Linked DNA regions of Homo sapiens: all the other regions are linked to region 1. The links are contacts of gene promoters, found by promoter capture Hi-C in blood cells and fetal thymus (Javierre and others, 2016). All regions are on one chromosome and are shown on one strand. The core of a region is centred on a gene start or on the middle of the fragment in contact, and the rest is flanking DNA. Distances in the headings are between cores, read along the strand shown. Region 1 holds the start of HSPB2 (heat shock protein family B (small) member 2). Region 2 overlaps IL18 (interleukin 18). Region 3 has its middle 36 kb from the start of IL18. Region 4 has its middle 14 kb from the start of SDHD. Region 5 overlaps DLAT (dihydrolipoamide S-acetyltransferase).

What was found. The method cuts DNA at HindIII sites, captures the fragments that hold promoters and counts their contacts. A CHiCAGO score of 5 or more calls a contact.
Region 2: a fragment that was not itself captured here is called in contact with the fragment with the promoter of HSPB2 in region 1 in 1 of 17 cell types (erythroblasts); the score reaches 6.9 in erythroblasts.
Region 3: a contact is called between a fragment that was not itself captured here and the fragment with the promoter of HSPB2 in region 1, in 1 of 17 cell types (neutrophils). The highest score is 5.5, in neutrophils.
Region 4: a fragment that was not itself captured here is called in contact with the fragment with the promoter of HSPB2 in region 1 in 1 of 17 cell types (activated CD4 T cells); the score reaches 5.3 in activated CD4 T cells.
Region 5: a contact is called between a fragment that was not itself captured here and the fragment with the promoter of HSPB2 in region 1, in 14 of 17 cell types (naive CD4 T cells, naive CD8 T cells, total CD8 T cells and 11 more). The highest score is 8.4, in naive CD4 T cells.

The regions. Positions count from the first base shown.
Region 1 is chr11:111,911,484-111,914,167 of GRCh38, reverse strand. It overlaps HSPB2 (heat shock protein family B (small) member 2), which reads right to left and starts at 1,434. Exons shown (of 2, transcript NM_001541.4): 1 at 1,245-1,434; 2 at 75-727. The coding sequence starts at 1,338. The coding sequence ends at 273. It overlaps CRYAB (crystallin alpha B), which reads left to right and starts at 2,398. Exons shown (of 3, transcript NM_001289808.2): 1 at 2,398-2,644. The coding sequence starts at 2,444. HSPB2-C11orf52 (HSPB2-C11orf52 readthrough (NMD candidate)) reads right to left here and starts at 1,432. Exons shown (of 5, transcript NR_037651.1): 1 at 1,245-1,432. RefSeq lists an enhancer at 30-683. The HindIII fragment of the contact is 6,880 bases long and covers 1-2,355 here.
Region 2 is chr11:112,147,815-112,150,498 of GRCh38, reverse strand. IL18 (interleukin 18) reads left to right here. Exons shown (of 6, transcript NM_001562.4): 4 at 293-427; 5 at 1,763-1,896. Among named protein-coding and RNA genes, the nearest start is that of IL18, 15 kb to the left of the region's middle. The HindIII fragment of the contact is 2,063 bases long and covers 324-2,386 here.
Region 3 is chr11:112,127,126-112,129,809 of GRCh38, reverse strand. No RefSeq gene overlaps it. Among named protein-coding and RNA genes, the nearest start is that of IL18, 36 kb to the left of the region's middle. The HindIII fragment of the contact is 2,155 bases long and covers 285-2,439 here.
Region 4 is chr11:112,099,470-112,102,153 of GRCh38, reverse strand. No RefSeq gene overlaps it. Among named protein-coding and RNA genes, the nearest start is that of SDHD, 14 kb to the right of the region's middle. RefSeq lists a silencer at 2,175-2,383. The HindIII fragment of the contact is 205 bases long and covers 1,250-1,454 here.
Region 5 is chr11:112,062,209-112,064,892 of GRCh38, reverse strand. DLAT (dihydrolipoamide S-acetyltransferase) reads right to left here. Exons shown (of 14, transcript NM_001931.5): 14 at 489-2,487. The coding sequence ends at 2,358. It also overlaps a transcript of PIH1D2 not described here. Among named protein-coding and RNA genes, the nearest start is that of PIH1D2, 10 kb to the left of the region's middle. The HindIII fragment of the contact is 1,127 bases long and covers 777-1,903 here.

The DNA.
Region 1 (2,684 bases), core at 185-2,684:
TAGCTGGCTGTGACCTCCTCCCTCCCTCCCCATCCCAGCTTCCCGGCCACAGAATAGGGAGCAGTACAAACAAGGCCCTGAGATTTGGGTTTATTCAGCTCCACCCAAAACTAAACCAAGGCTATGACATGTCCCATGGGACCAAACCATACATTGTGGACCATGCACCTTTCCCTTCCCCCAAGGATGCTGCTACCTCTGGAGTGGTGGGCAGCTGCCCATATCACCTTGGGAGGTAGAGAGGGATTTGCTGGGTGCTGGGTCTGTGGCAATCAGGGCTCAACTATGGCTGCCTCCTCCTCTTCCTCTGGATCAGGAGGCGCAGGGAGCAGGGAGATGTAGACCTCATTGACCTCTGTGTCCAAATGTCGGCCACCCCGAGGTGCTTCCAGGTTTAAGATGCCATCATGGGAGAGAGCAGCTCGGACTCGCCAGGGGTCGACATCAGCAGGCAGGACATAGGTGCGGCAGAACTCTCGGGACACGAAGCCGTGGCGGTCCAGGCGCTGGGGGTGCCGGGCAGACACCTCCAGCAGGTTATCCACAGTCCTCACAGTCACCTCGTCTGGGGTAAAGTGGCTCACATCCAGAAATGCCTGGAACTTGCCCTCACTGAGCCTAAGCTCGGAGGCCCCTGCCCTGCTGCCCTCCCCAGCTGGGGCGGCCCGAGGCCGGACATAGTAGCCATGGTAGAGTGTGGGGGTCAGGATCTCTTCTGGCAGGAGGCCTAAAGGGCAGAGAGAAGGCAAGAGGCAGGATGAGGGAGGATGAGGCTGGCACAGGGGCGAAATGGGAAATCTGGAGAGGAGGGATTGGGAAGAGCAAGAGGGGAGTCAGGAGGAGTAGGGAACGGGAGGGAGGCCACACTGTAGCTAGGAGGAGAAGGCAGCTCGGAAGAGGGGAAAGAGAACGGAAAGGAAAGGGAGGAGGAGGAGGAGAAGGAGGAGGAGGGGGAGGAGGAGGAGGCACCAAACGGCCTGGGTGGATAGAAGGGGGACAAGGAGGCACACCCAGGCCGGCAAAGAGCAGGTATCAGCACTGCAAGCACCAAGTGTGTCTTGAGGTCAGCAGGAATGGGAAAGATCTCTGCTTGGAGGGGATGAGGGGTAGTCTGGGGTGGGGGGTGGCTGGTCCCAGGAGATCAGTTAAGCCCAGAGTGGGGTGGAGGCCAGCAACGTTGGGAGGTCAGCCCAGAATTTCAGGGGGTGGGGGTGGGGGGCAAGGGGGTGGTGTCTGTGCCATACCTTCTCCGAAGCGCTGCTCACCCAGGCGGCTCGGGTTGGCAAATTCGTACTCGGCGGTGGCCGGGTGGGCATGTGGCACTGAGCGGCCCGACATGGCTGCAGATGCAGCAGAAGCCCTGGTCCGAGGTGCAGCCCCAACAGGCGCAGCGCGACCCCTCCAGCTGCCCGGAGAGCCAGGGCTCGATAGGAGGTGGGGGCGGGGTCGACACCACCCAAAATAGTGCCGAGCCTCTTGGGGGGGGAGGGGCTGGGAGTGGGGGCCCTGAGTGAGAGCAACGAGGGTGTGACCAGCGCCGCCCGGACCCCTAGTCCCCTCCCCCGCACACTCTTCAGCTGTCGCAGGGGGCCTGAGAGGACAGCTGAGGGTCCTGGCTGGGAACGAGCTGGGGAGGGGGAGCTGGTGGTGCCTGGGGCATGAAGAGGCCTCGCTGAGACCCTCACAAACGGTTTGCACGTTTCCACACCTCATTTTCTCCTCTTCGGTGGCAGGCACTGTGCACCCAATTCCTAAAGCACTCCTGGATTTAATGTTCTGAGAGCCACATAGAACGAAAGATGCAAGAAATCTGTTTGCTCTTTTTTCAGGGGGTGGGGTCTTTCTGCCCAGATGTGGGATCCTCTCCTAAACCCAGGTCAACCCAGGGCACGAGGCAGATGGCTGGTGCTGACATGTTGACCATCACTGCTCTCTTCCAAGGACTCACAAAGAGTTAATGTCCCTGGGGCTCAGCCTAGGAAGATTCCAGTCCCTGCCCAGGCCCAAGATAGTTGCTGGCCTGATTCCCCTGGCATTCAGGACTGGAAAGGAGGAGGAGGGGCACACTACGCCGGCTCCCATCCTCCCCCCACCCCGCGTGCCTGCTTGGGATTCCTGACTCTGTACCAGCTTCAGAGAACAGGGGTGGGGGTGGGTGCCATTGGGTGTGGACAGAAAGCTAGTGAAACAAGACCATGACAAGTCACTGGCCGGCTCAGACGTGTTTGTGTCTCTCTTTTCTTAGCTCAGTGAGTACTGGGTATGTGTCACATTGCCAAATCCCGGATCACAAGTCTCCATGAACTGCTGGTGAGCTAGGATAATAAAACCCCTGACATCACCATTCCAGAAGCTTCACAAGACTGCATATATAAGGGGCTGGCTGTAGCTGCAGCTGAAGGAGCTGACCAGCCAGCTGACCCCTCACACTCACCTAGCCACCATGGACATCGCCATCCACCACCCCTGGATCCGCCGCCCCTTCTTTCCTTTCCACTCCCCCAGCCGCCTCTTTGACCAGTTCTTCGGAGAGCACCTGTTGGAGTCTGATCTTTTCCCGACGTCTACTTCCCTGAGTCCCTTCTACCTTCGGCCACCCTCCTTCCTGCGGGCACCCAGCTGGTTTGACACTGGACTCTCAGAGGTGAGTCTCCCCACAGCTAGGACGGGAGAGTCCTTACTGG
Region 2 (2,684 bases), core at 106-2,605, 240 kb before region 1:
AGAACACATAGAGTTGGAGTAAAAGTGTAAGAAAACTAGAAGGGTAAGAGACCGGTCAGAAAGTAGGCTATTTGAAGTTAACACTTCAGAGGCAGAGTAGTTCTGAATGGTAACAAGAAATTGAGTGTGCCTTTGAGAGTAGGTTAAAAAACAATAGGCAACTTTATTGTAGCTACTTCTGGAACAGAAGATTGTCATTAATAGTTTTAGAAAACTAAAATATATAGCATACTTATTTGTCAATTAACAAAGAAACTATGTATTTTTAAATGAGATTTAATGTTTATTGTAGAAAACCTGGAATCAGATTACTTTGGCAAGCTTGAATCTAAATTATCAGTCATAAGAAATTTGAATGACCAAGTTCTCTTCATTGACCAAGGAAATCGGCCTCTATTTGAAGATATGACTGATTCTGACTGTAGAGGTATTTTTTTTAATTCGCAAACATAGAAATGACTAGCTACTTCTTCCCATTCTGTTTTACTGCTTACATTGTTCCGTGCTAGTCCCAATCCTCAGATGAAAAGTCACAGGAGTGACAATAATTTCACTTACAGGAAACTTTATAAGGCATCCACGTTTTTTAGTTGGGGTAAAAAATTGGATACAATAAGACATTGCTAGGGGTCATGCCTCTCTGAGCCTGCCTTTGAATCACCAATCCCTTTATTGTGATTGCATTAACTGTTTAAAACCTCTATAGTTGGATGCTTAATCCCTGCTTGTTACAGCTGAAAATGCTGATAGTTTACCAGGTGTGGTGGCATCTATCTGTAATCCTAGCTACTTGGGAGGCTCAAGCAGGAGGATTGCTTGAGGCCAGGACTTTGAGGCTGTAGTACACTGTGATCGTACCTGTGAATAGCCACTGCACTCCAGCCTGGGTGATATACAGACCTTGTCTCTAAAATTAAAAAAAAAAAAAAAAAAAAAAAAACTTAAGAAAAGAAAATGATCAAGTCTACTGTGCCTTCCAAAATATGAATTCCAAATATCAAAGTTAGGCTGAGTTGAAGCAGTGAATGTGCATTCTTTAAAAATACTGAATACTTACCTTAACATATATTTTAAATATTTTATTTAGCATTTAAAAGTTAAAAACAATCTTTTAGAATTCATATCTTTAAAATACTCAAAAAAGTTGCAGCGTGTGTGTTGTAATACACATTAAACTGTGGGGTTGTTTGTTTGTTTGAGATGCAGTTTCACTCTGTCACCCAGGCTGAAGTGCAGTGCAGTGCAGTGGTGTGATCTCGGCTCACTACAACCTCCACCTCCCACGTTCAAGCGATTCTCATGCCTCAGTCTCCCGAGTAGGTGGGATTACAGGCATGCACCACTTACACCCGGCTAATTTTTGTATTTTTAGTAGAGCTGGGGTTTCACCATGTTGGCCAGGCTGGTCTCAAACCCCTAACCTCAAGTGATCTGCCTGCCTCAGCCTCCCAAACAAACAAACAACCCCACAGTTTAATATGTGTTACAACACACATGCTGCAACTTTTATGAGTATAATGATATAGATTATAAAAGGTTGTTTTTAACTTTTAAATGCTGGGATTACAGGCATGAGCCACTGTGCCAGGCCTGAACTGTGTTTTTAAAAATGTCTGACCAGCTGTACATAGTCTCCTGCAGACTGGCCAAGTCTCAAAGTGGGAACAGGTGTATTAAGGACTATCCTTTGGTTAAATTTCCGCAAATGTTCCTGTGCAAGAATTCTTCTAACTAGAGTTCTCATTTATTATATTTATTTCAGATAATGCACCCCGGACCATATTTATTATAAGTATGTATAAAGATAGCCAGCCTAGAGGTATGGCTGTAACTATCTCTGTGAAGTGTGAGAAAATTTCAACTCTCTCCTGTGAGAACAAAATTATTTCCTTTAAGGTAAGACTGAGCCTTACTTTGTTTTCAATCATGTTAATATAATTAATATAATTAGAAATATAACATTATTTCTAATGTTAATATAAGTAATGTAATTAGAAAACTCAAATATCCTCAGACCAACCTTTTGTCTAGAACAGAAATAACAAGAAGCAGAGAACCATTAAAATGAATACTTACTAAAAATTATCAAACTCTTTACCTATTGTGATAATGATGGTTTTTCTGAGCCTGTCACAGGGAAGAGGAGATACAACACTTGTTTTATGACCTGCATCTCCTGAACAATCAGTCTTTATACAAATAATAATGTAGAATACATATGTGAGTTATACATTTAAGAATAACATGTGACTTTCCAGAATGAGTTCTGCTATGAAGAATGAAGCTAATTATCCTTCTATATTTCTACACCTTTGTAAATTATGATAATATTTTAATCCCTAGTTGTTTTGTTGCTGATCCTTAGCCTAAGTCTTAGACACAAGCTTCAGCTTCCAGTTGATGTATGTTATTTTTAATGTTAATCTAATTGAATAAAAGTTATGAGATCAGCTGTAAAAGTAATGCTATAATTATCTTCAAGCCAGGTATAAAGTATTTCTGGCCTCTACTTTTTCTCTATTATTCTCCATTATTATTCTCTATTATTTTTCTCTATTTCCTCCATTATTGTTAGATAAACCACAATTAACTATAGCTACAGACTGAGCCAGTAAGAGTAGCCAGGGATGCTTACAAATTGGCAATGCTTCAGAGGAGAATTCCATGTCATGAAGACTCTTTTT
Region 3 (2,684 bases), core at 113-2,612, 220 kb before region 1:
AACATCCTCATAACGGCTTACAAGGCCCAGCAACCTCTGGTCCCCATTGACTGCCTGGTCCCCAGTTCCCAGTTCCCACTCCAATTTTGTCTCCTACTTCTCTAGTCTTCATTCAGCCTGCTTCAGCCACACCGGTCTTGCTGTTGCTCTGACACTCTAAGCGTACTTCCAGCTTGGGGCCTAGTTATTTTCTCTGCCTGTAATTCTCTCCCCTCAGAGGTCCATTTGACAAATTCCTCATCTCCTTCAGGATGCTGATGAAATCTCACTTGTTCAGTGAAGCTTACCCTGGCTATTTAATACCATAACCTGCCCCGTCCCACCTCCACACATTCTAGTTCCCTTTACACCACATTATTTTTCATCTATAGGCCCATCACCTTATAATATATAATGTTTACATATAATTAATATATATAGTATGCTCATTGTTTATTGTCCCTCTTCCTTGGTAGAACGTTGGGTCCCAGAGGCAGAGACCTTTGTCTGTTTTATTCACTGATGTATCCCAATCACCTAAGCGCAGAACCCGGACCAGAGCAGGTGCTCAATGTATGAATATACACAAATGAATGAAGAAGGGAAGGTATAAATTCTGAGGCTTAATGCTTTCTGGCAGACAAAGCAAGTCAGTTGATGAAATGCACAAACTTCCAAGCTCTCTGAAGTTCTGAGGACTCCAGTCAACAGCCTCAGCTCTCTGAGCTGAGAGCCAGAGGGCAACATCTGTGGCTTAGGATTTTGCCTGTCACTTAGCAGTGGCTGGTAGCCTGGGCATCTTACGTGGTTAAATATTTACTGTGAAGAAAGAACTCCAACAGCTGCTGCACCCAGCCCCCGAGGAGGGCTGTGTGGATGGAGCACAGTGTTCAGAACCACACAGGGGCCCTCCCTCTCAGCATGCCTTTCCCACCTGGATAACACCTCACACCCTCACTTCCCAGCATCCAAAAAGGCTCCACCCTTCTCTCCTGGCACCCTGACAGGGATGGTTACACCCAAGCAAGGGGTCATAAAGCCCCTCCATATTAAATGCCTTTTATACGACATTATTTCCTGTAACTATACAGATATCCATAAATCAAGCTCCTAATGCAAAGGCTCCAAAGGCTAGAGAGTCTATGGGAGTGCCCATAAATTGCTTAAGGAAGGAATAACAATTTGAAGTGTCAGGGACAAAGCAGAATCTCCTCATTCATCTAAGTAGTGATTCACCCTGGGCTGCCTGCCAAAGTCACAGGCTTCAGCAGCCAGTGGTTCCATGAAAATATGAGCCTGGTTTCCTGGTGTCTTCCCATCTCTGCCATCTGACAATCCACCTTGGGTCTGCCACCTTGTCTTCTCACTCCACCACTCTCCAGCTAGCCCATCAGGGTTGGAAGCCATGCATTGAATCTTGAAGCTCACATGTTATTTTCACCCTTAGGTAGAAGAAGACAAACTAATTTTTTTTTCTTTTTTTTTTTTTAGACCGAGTGTCTCGTGGTGTGGCCCAGGTTAGAGTGCAGTGGTACAGTCTGGGCTCACTGCAACCTCCACCTCTGGGGTTCAAGCGATTCTCCTGCCTCAGCCTCTGGGGTAGCTGGGACTACAGGCACATGCCACCAAACCCCTCTAATTTTTTGTATTTTTAGTAGAGATGGGGTTTTGCCATGTTTGCCAGGCTGGTCTCAAACTCCTGAGCTCAAAGTGATCCACCCACCTTGGCCTCCCAAAGCACTGGGATTATAGGCATGAGCCATCACACCCGACCCCAATTTAACAAGAAGTATTAAAATGCCTTTCATGCATCTGACAAATATTTATTGAGCACCTACTATAAGCCAAGCTCTTTTCAAGGCACTAAGTATTCAGAAAATAACAGAGAAAGATCCCTGTTCCCAAGGAACTTACATTCTAGTAGGGGGAAAATGACATGTAGACAGAATGTTTTAAAGATCCAAAAATCAGATAACACAAAATGCTATCTGAAAAATTAAGAACCTCAGTGAAGGCTGCGCGTGGTGGCTTATGCCTGTAATCCCAGCACTTTGGGAGGCCGAGGCGGGTGGATCACGTGGTCAGGAGTTCGAGACCCGCCTGGCCAACACAGTGAAACCTGTCTCTACTAAAAATACAAAAATTAGCCAGGCGTAGTGGCAGGCACCTGTAATCCCAACTACTCAGGAGGCTGAGGCAGAAGAATTGCTTGAACCCAGGAAGCAGACATTGCAGTGAGCCGAGTTCGCACCACTGCACTCCAACCTGGGTGACAGAGTGAGACTCCATCTCAAAAACAAAAACAAAACAAAACAAAAACAAAAAAGAACCTCTATGAAGAGGTGATGGTTAAACTAAGATGTGAAAGCCAAGACAAGATCTCCCATGCCAAGATTATGAGGATGAGCATTCTCGGCACAGAGAATAGCTGGTGCAAAGGTCCTGAGGCTGGAGCAAGCTTGGAGTGTAGGAAGCAGAGAAAATGGCTCCTGTGGCCAGGGGAGATTTGGCAGAAGGGAGAGTGGCCATAAATGAGGTGGGAGAGGCAGTTGTGGTTTGGTCAGAGTCTTTGTGGACTCAAGAATGGGGTATGGATTTTATCTAAATGCCAACACAGGGCTTTAAGTTGGGGGAATTATGCAATCTGATTTATGTTTCTGAAAGATTATTCTGGCCACTGGGAAGAGAATGGATTTGAGTTGGGC
Region 4 (2,684 bases), core at 103-2,602, 190 kb before region 1:
TACAGGTATGAGCCACCGCGCCCAGCCTCCCTTAGTTTTACGTTTTTAAGTTTTATACATAGGCCTGATGATATTGCAATTTACTTCTTAAAATCTTCATAAGCTTTCATATTAAACTATTATAGAAACACTCTATGAGGCTGGGCTTGACACATCCCGTAACAGATTTCATCCTTGGTATGTAGTAATCTTGTATTTTTTCAAAAATGAATCTCATATACATAGTCTTATGCCCAATTTACAAACTCTGTTTCTCAAAAGAATACCAATAGATACATTGTGTCTCCCATCATCACCAGCATAATCTACAACTGAAAGACTAGTTTTTTATTTATATTTATATTATATTATATTATTATTTATTGAGACTGAGTCTCACTCTGTTGCCCAGGCTGGAGTGCAGTGACATGATTTTGGCGTACTGCAGCCTCCGCCTCCCGGGTTCAAGCAATTCTCCTGCTTCAGCCTCTTGAGTAGCTGGGACTACAGGCATAAGCCACCATGGCAGGCTAATATTTGTATTTTTAGTAGAGACGGGGTTTCACCATGTTGGCCAGGCTGGTCTCAAACTCCTGACCTCAGGTGATCCACCTGCCTCAGCCTCCCAAAGTGCTGGGATTACAGGCGTGAGTCACTGTGCCAGGCCCTATATTTATATGTTTGAGACAGGGTCTCACTCTGTCACCCAAGCTGGAGTGCAGTGGCGCAATCTCAGCTCACTGCAACCTCCACTTCCTGGGTTCAAGCAATTCTCCCGCGTCAATCTCCCAAGTAGCTAGGACTATACAGGCGCATGCCACCACACCCGGCTAATTTTTGTATATTTTGGTAGAGACAGGGTTTCACCATGTTGGCCAGGCTGGTCTCGAATTCCTGACCTCAGGCGATCCGCCTGCCTCGGCCTCCCAAAGTGCTGGGATTACAGGCATGAGCCACTGCACCTGGCCTGGAAGACTAGTTTAGAAACAGTCACTGATGAAAGTTAGAGTTAGAACCACATTGGAAATGACCATTTGGGTATTTTAATCTCATAGACACCGTTCTGAAGCTCCAGGCCCATAGTCATGGATACATGCTTCACAGTGGTGCTTAGGTCTCAGAAACTGAACATTCAGCCCCACTGGGAATTGACCCTGACACTCATTATCAGGTGTCCAGAGGAGAAAACTCTCCTAAGTAGACATCTACTTTTTAAGATTCTATGAATTGAGACGATAACATCAAGTATATACCACTCTCTCCAAAAGCTTTCTGATCCCTGAGCAGAAAGCTGACTTATATTTAGACTTATATCTCATCTTATGTTTATAATGTGTATCTGAAAATTCCAGGGTCTGAATTCTTTGTGGGTATGGTTCTGTTTATTTGTGCTGACTCTTGCTCAGGACATTCCAGTACTGTGATTTTTGCTGACAGTTCACGTTCACTGGAACTTTATGGGGATTTTTGAAGCTTGTGTTGGGGTAACCCTTCTCTCTCTGGTGAGGATTTGTGCTGACTACCATGCCCTACAAACCTAGGTCAAAGTTAAATTTGCCCCATGTAACCTTTTTAGATATGCAGGTAACTTGAACTCGGACTCCAAACTGGCATGAGGACTGGCTCTTAGCCACACATTCTCAGAAGAGACTCTTTCCTCCAACCTGAGCCAAGGCAAGATACACACATTGCTCTGCTCTCTGCTTTTTCAGATAAATATCAGTTTTTCTTTTGGGGGGGATGGAGTTTCACTCTTGTTGCCCAGGGTGGAGTGTAATGGTGTGATCTCAGCTCACCGCAACCTCTGCCTCCCGGGTTCAAGCAATTCTCCTGCCTCAGCCTCCCGAGTAGCTGGGATTACAGGCACCCACCACCACGCCCGGCCCTTTTTTTTTTTTTTTTTTTTGTATTTTTAGTAGAGACAGGGTTTCTCTCTGTTGGTCAGGATGGTCTCGAACTCCCAACCTCAGATGATCCACCCGCCTCGGCCTCCCAGAGTGCTGGGATTACAGGTGTGAGCAAATATCATTTTTTCTAATTCACCCTTTCTCTGAGGGCAAAACTCTTTATGGTTCTTGGTTTAGGGGAATCTTCATTCTAACTCCCTGGTTTGAGCCCTAAGCTTTTCTCCTGGCCTATGTGCCACCTTCTTAAAACTAGAATCCGGCCAGACATGGTGGCGCAAGCATATAATGCAAGCACTTTGGGAGGCAAAGGCAGGTGGATTACTTGAGCTCAGGAGTTTGAGACCAGCCTGGGCAACACAGTGAGACCTCATCTCTACTAAAAATCAAAAAAATTAGCTAGGCATGGTGGCACAAGTCTGTAATCCCAGCTACTTTCAGAAGGCTGAGGTGGGAGGATCACTTGAGCACAGGAGATCAAGGCTGCAGTGAGTTTGATCACGCCACTGCACTCCAACCTGGACAACAGAGCGTGATTCTGACTCAAAAAAATATAATAATGGCTAGGCGTGGTGGCTCATGCCTGTAATCCTAGCACTTTGGGAGGCCGAGGCAGGCGGATCATGAGGTCAGGAGATCAAGACCATCCTGGCTGACACGGTGAAACCCCGTCTCTACTAAAAATATGAAAACAAAATTAGCCGGGCATGGTGGCAGGCGCCTGTAGTCCCAGCTACTCCAGAGGCTGAGGTGGGAGAATGGTGTGAACCTGGCAGGCGGAGCTTGCAGTGAGCCAAGATC
Region 5 (2,684 bases), core at 91-2,590, 150 kb before region 1:
CTCCAGCCTGGGCGACACAGACTCCATCTCAAAAAAAAAAAAAAAAAAAATTTGGAGACCAGATTTTTCTACAGACTTCATTTTTAGATCACTTACCAGTAGTGATGATGATTTCCCCATGTATTCCAGGACTTGTGCATTACACATGATGAACATTCCTCCTATCTCTCTAATGTGCTGGTTTACTCCTTTCTAGACCATGCCTTGGGATACCCTAACTTCACAATCACAAGCTTCAGAATTGGGAATAAATCACCTAACAGAACCAGACCACACTTTCCATCTTGATAATAAGTGCCACACCCCAACATGGGGTGCTTCAGGAACTCTTTGAGCTTAAAAGTGTTAGATTATATTCTCCTAAATGTAGTCCATATTTTGCCAATTATATAAACTCAAAATTTATCTGTATTGAGAGCTTATACATACATGGCTGTCCCTAGATCTAAATAATTTAAATGTGAAAATAATTACCAACAGACCAAAAATTAAACCAGACATATTGAAGATTTATACTTTAATTTTTAAATAATCATATGAACCAAAAACACTATTTCTAACTTTTTTCTTTCAGTTCTGGTAAGAGACTGAATCGATTTAGATTATAGCTCAGATTAATTTTTAACTCAACAATGTTTATTAGAAGGCAACTGTTTTTATTTTTTTTCAAGGGAACAACAGAACCACAAGCATTAGCGAAAGATGAATTATCTTTGAAGTTTTGAATGTTTGAACCAGATTTGGATCATATTGATGATGGTCCCTTGTGATAAGCTTGTTTCTTTTGGATAATCTTCAACCTAAAATTACTAATTACTGAAAAATCAAATTAATGTATTGTTTTCATAATAATACAGCAAGGTAAAAGTCTGTGTGGAATATATGGAGTGTCACTTGTGTACCATGTAATAATGAATATTTAGAAACAGATTCAACACTGAAACACTTAAAGCAAATTTCAGGGGCTAACTCCACATATTACATATACCAGGAAGCACTGGTCAGATTCATTTTAAGTAGTCATAAATAATTTCAAACGTTTATTAAAACACATAAATATTAATAGAAAGTCTGGAATTGTGATAATGTTCCCAATTCATTTTTATAATCCAGAATATCGCCTCCTTCCTTCCAAAAGAAAGGCAAAATCTAACAAAATAGAAAAAAGTATTTAGGCAAATAAAGTAGCAACCTAGTTAATTTTTTCTCTCCAATAGTATTTTAGGGCTTTCTTATTTTACATGAGACGATGCTGGAGTAGAAGGACACAGAACACTTTTTTACACACATTTAACTTTTTTACTTTATCAAAGTAGAAATTACCATTTTGTTTTTGGCATTTTTAAGCACTCCAAAATGTTTACCAATGTACCCCTCCTTTTCAGACAGGATTTGGGATAAATGGACTTTGGCACATATCTAACTCTAGTAACAATATTTTACATATGTACACTTATTCCATATATATTCCTTAGTTATTTGATAGCATTTTCCACAGTGGAGTCATAAATTCTGTTCATTATGTTCATTTACAATGAACTACCAGTTAATCTTAGAAAATTTTAGTTTCACAACTTCTGTTAAATTATATTAACAATGTTTCTTTTTTGGAGGTAACTGTTGAATTCTGTACTCAAAATTACACATTTGTTTAAATAAATATCCACACAAATTCTCAGTTACATCAAGTAGCTGGTTTATATTTAGATTATCTCAAGTAGGGGGGAATAACCATGTGTAGGAATTCATAGAAAAATAAACAATCAGCTGAAGAGGTCTAAGAAAATGCTGACTTTTAAAATTTCACTTATTTTCCTTGAAGTTTTCTACCCTTCCCATCGATGATAAACCAAGATCATGTAATGGAAAATTTCAAACCAGGGCTAAATTCTAAAGTAAAGCTTCAATTCAAGCCCTTCCCCCAAGAGAATTAATTTTTCTGATTTCTCTTTCTCTCACATCTAAGGAGAACATTTTAGGCAGTTAAATTTCAGAACTTCAAGGTTTCATCAGGGTCACCTTTATGTACTTGTCTTTAGGGAACCACAATTCTACCTATCGTACATTTCCTAGAGGAAGTACTTATCACCAAAGGGCTAGGCAAGGCCACATACATGTCCCTTAATTAGGAGTACAGAGCTAAAAATCTGGTGTCTGATTATTAAATGTGCACAATATTTGGGTGTAATCGGCATTTTAAAAATTCAGTAATGCCCATTATAAATAACTTATCTGGACAGACTCAATAATAAAAATAACTGGTTAAAATAAAAAGAACCACCTGTTTAATAACATATAAATATCTTGTTAAGAATGAATCAGTGTGACCTGGGAGAGTTTAGAAATTCTTGAGTTAGTTACAACAACATAGTGATAGGTTTTTCAAGGTACTTTCTAAACTCAGCAAGCCACTGGGCTCCAACTGCTCCATCCACCACCCGGTGATCACAACTGAGTGTAACAGACATCATGCTAGCCACATCAAACCTAGAAAAAGATAAAGACATTTTAGATATTCTGAAAGAAAATACTGCATTTCAGCCAGTAACCACCCAAATGCTCACTCCTACCCTATAATCCCAACCAGGTAATACTTCCTATCTACTCTTCCAGTCTCCTATACCTTTAGCTCAAATTTATAGCTTGAAGAAACAGACCAGATACCTGGAGTATGGGTGGGCAAT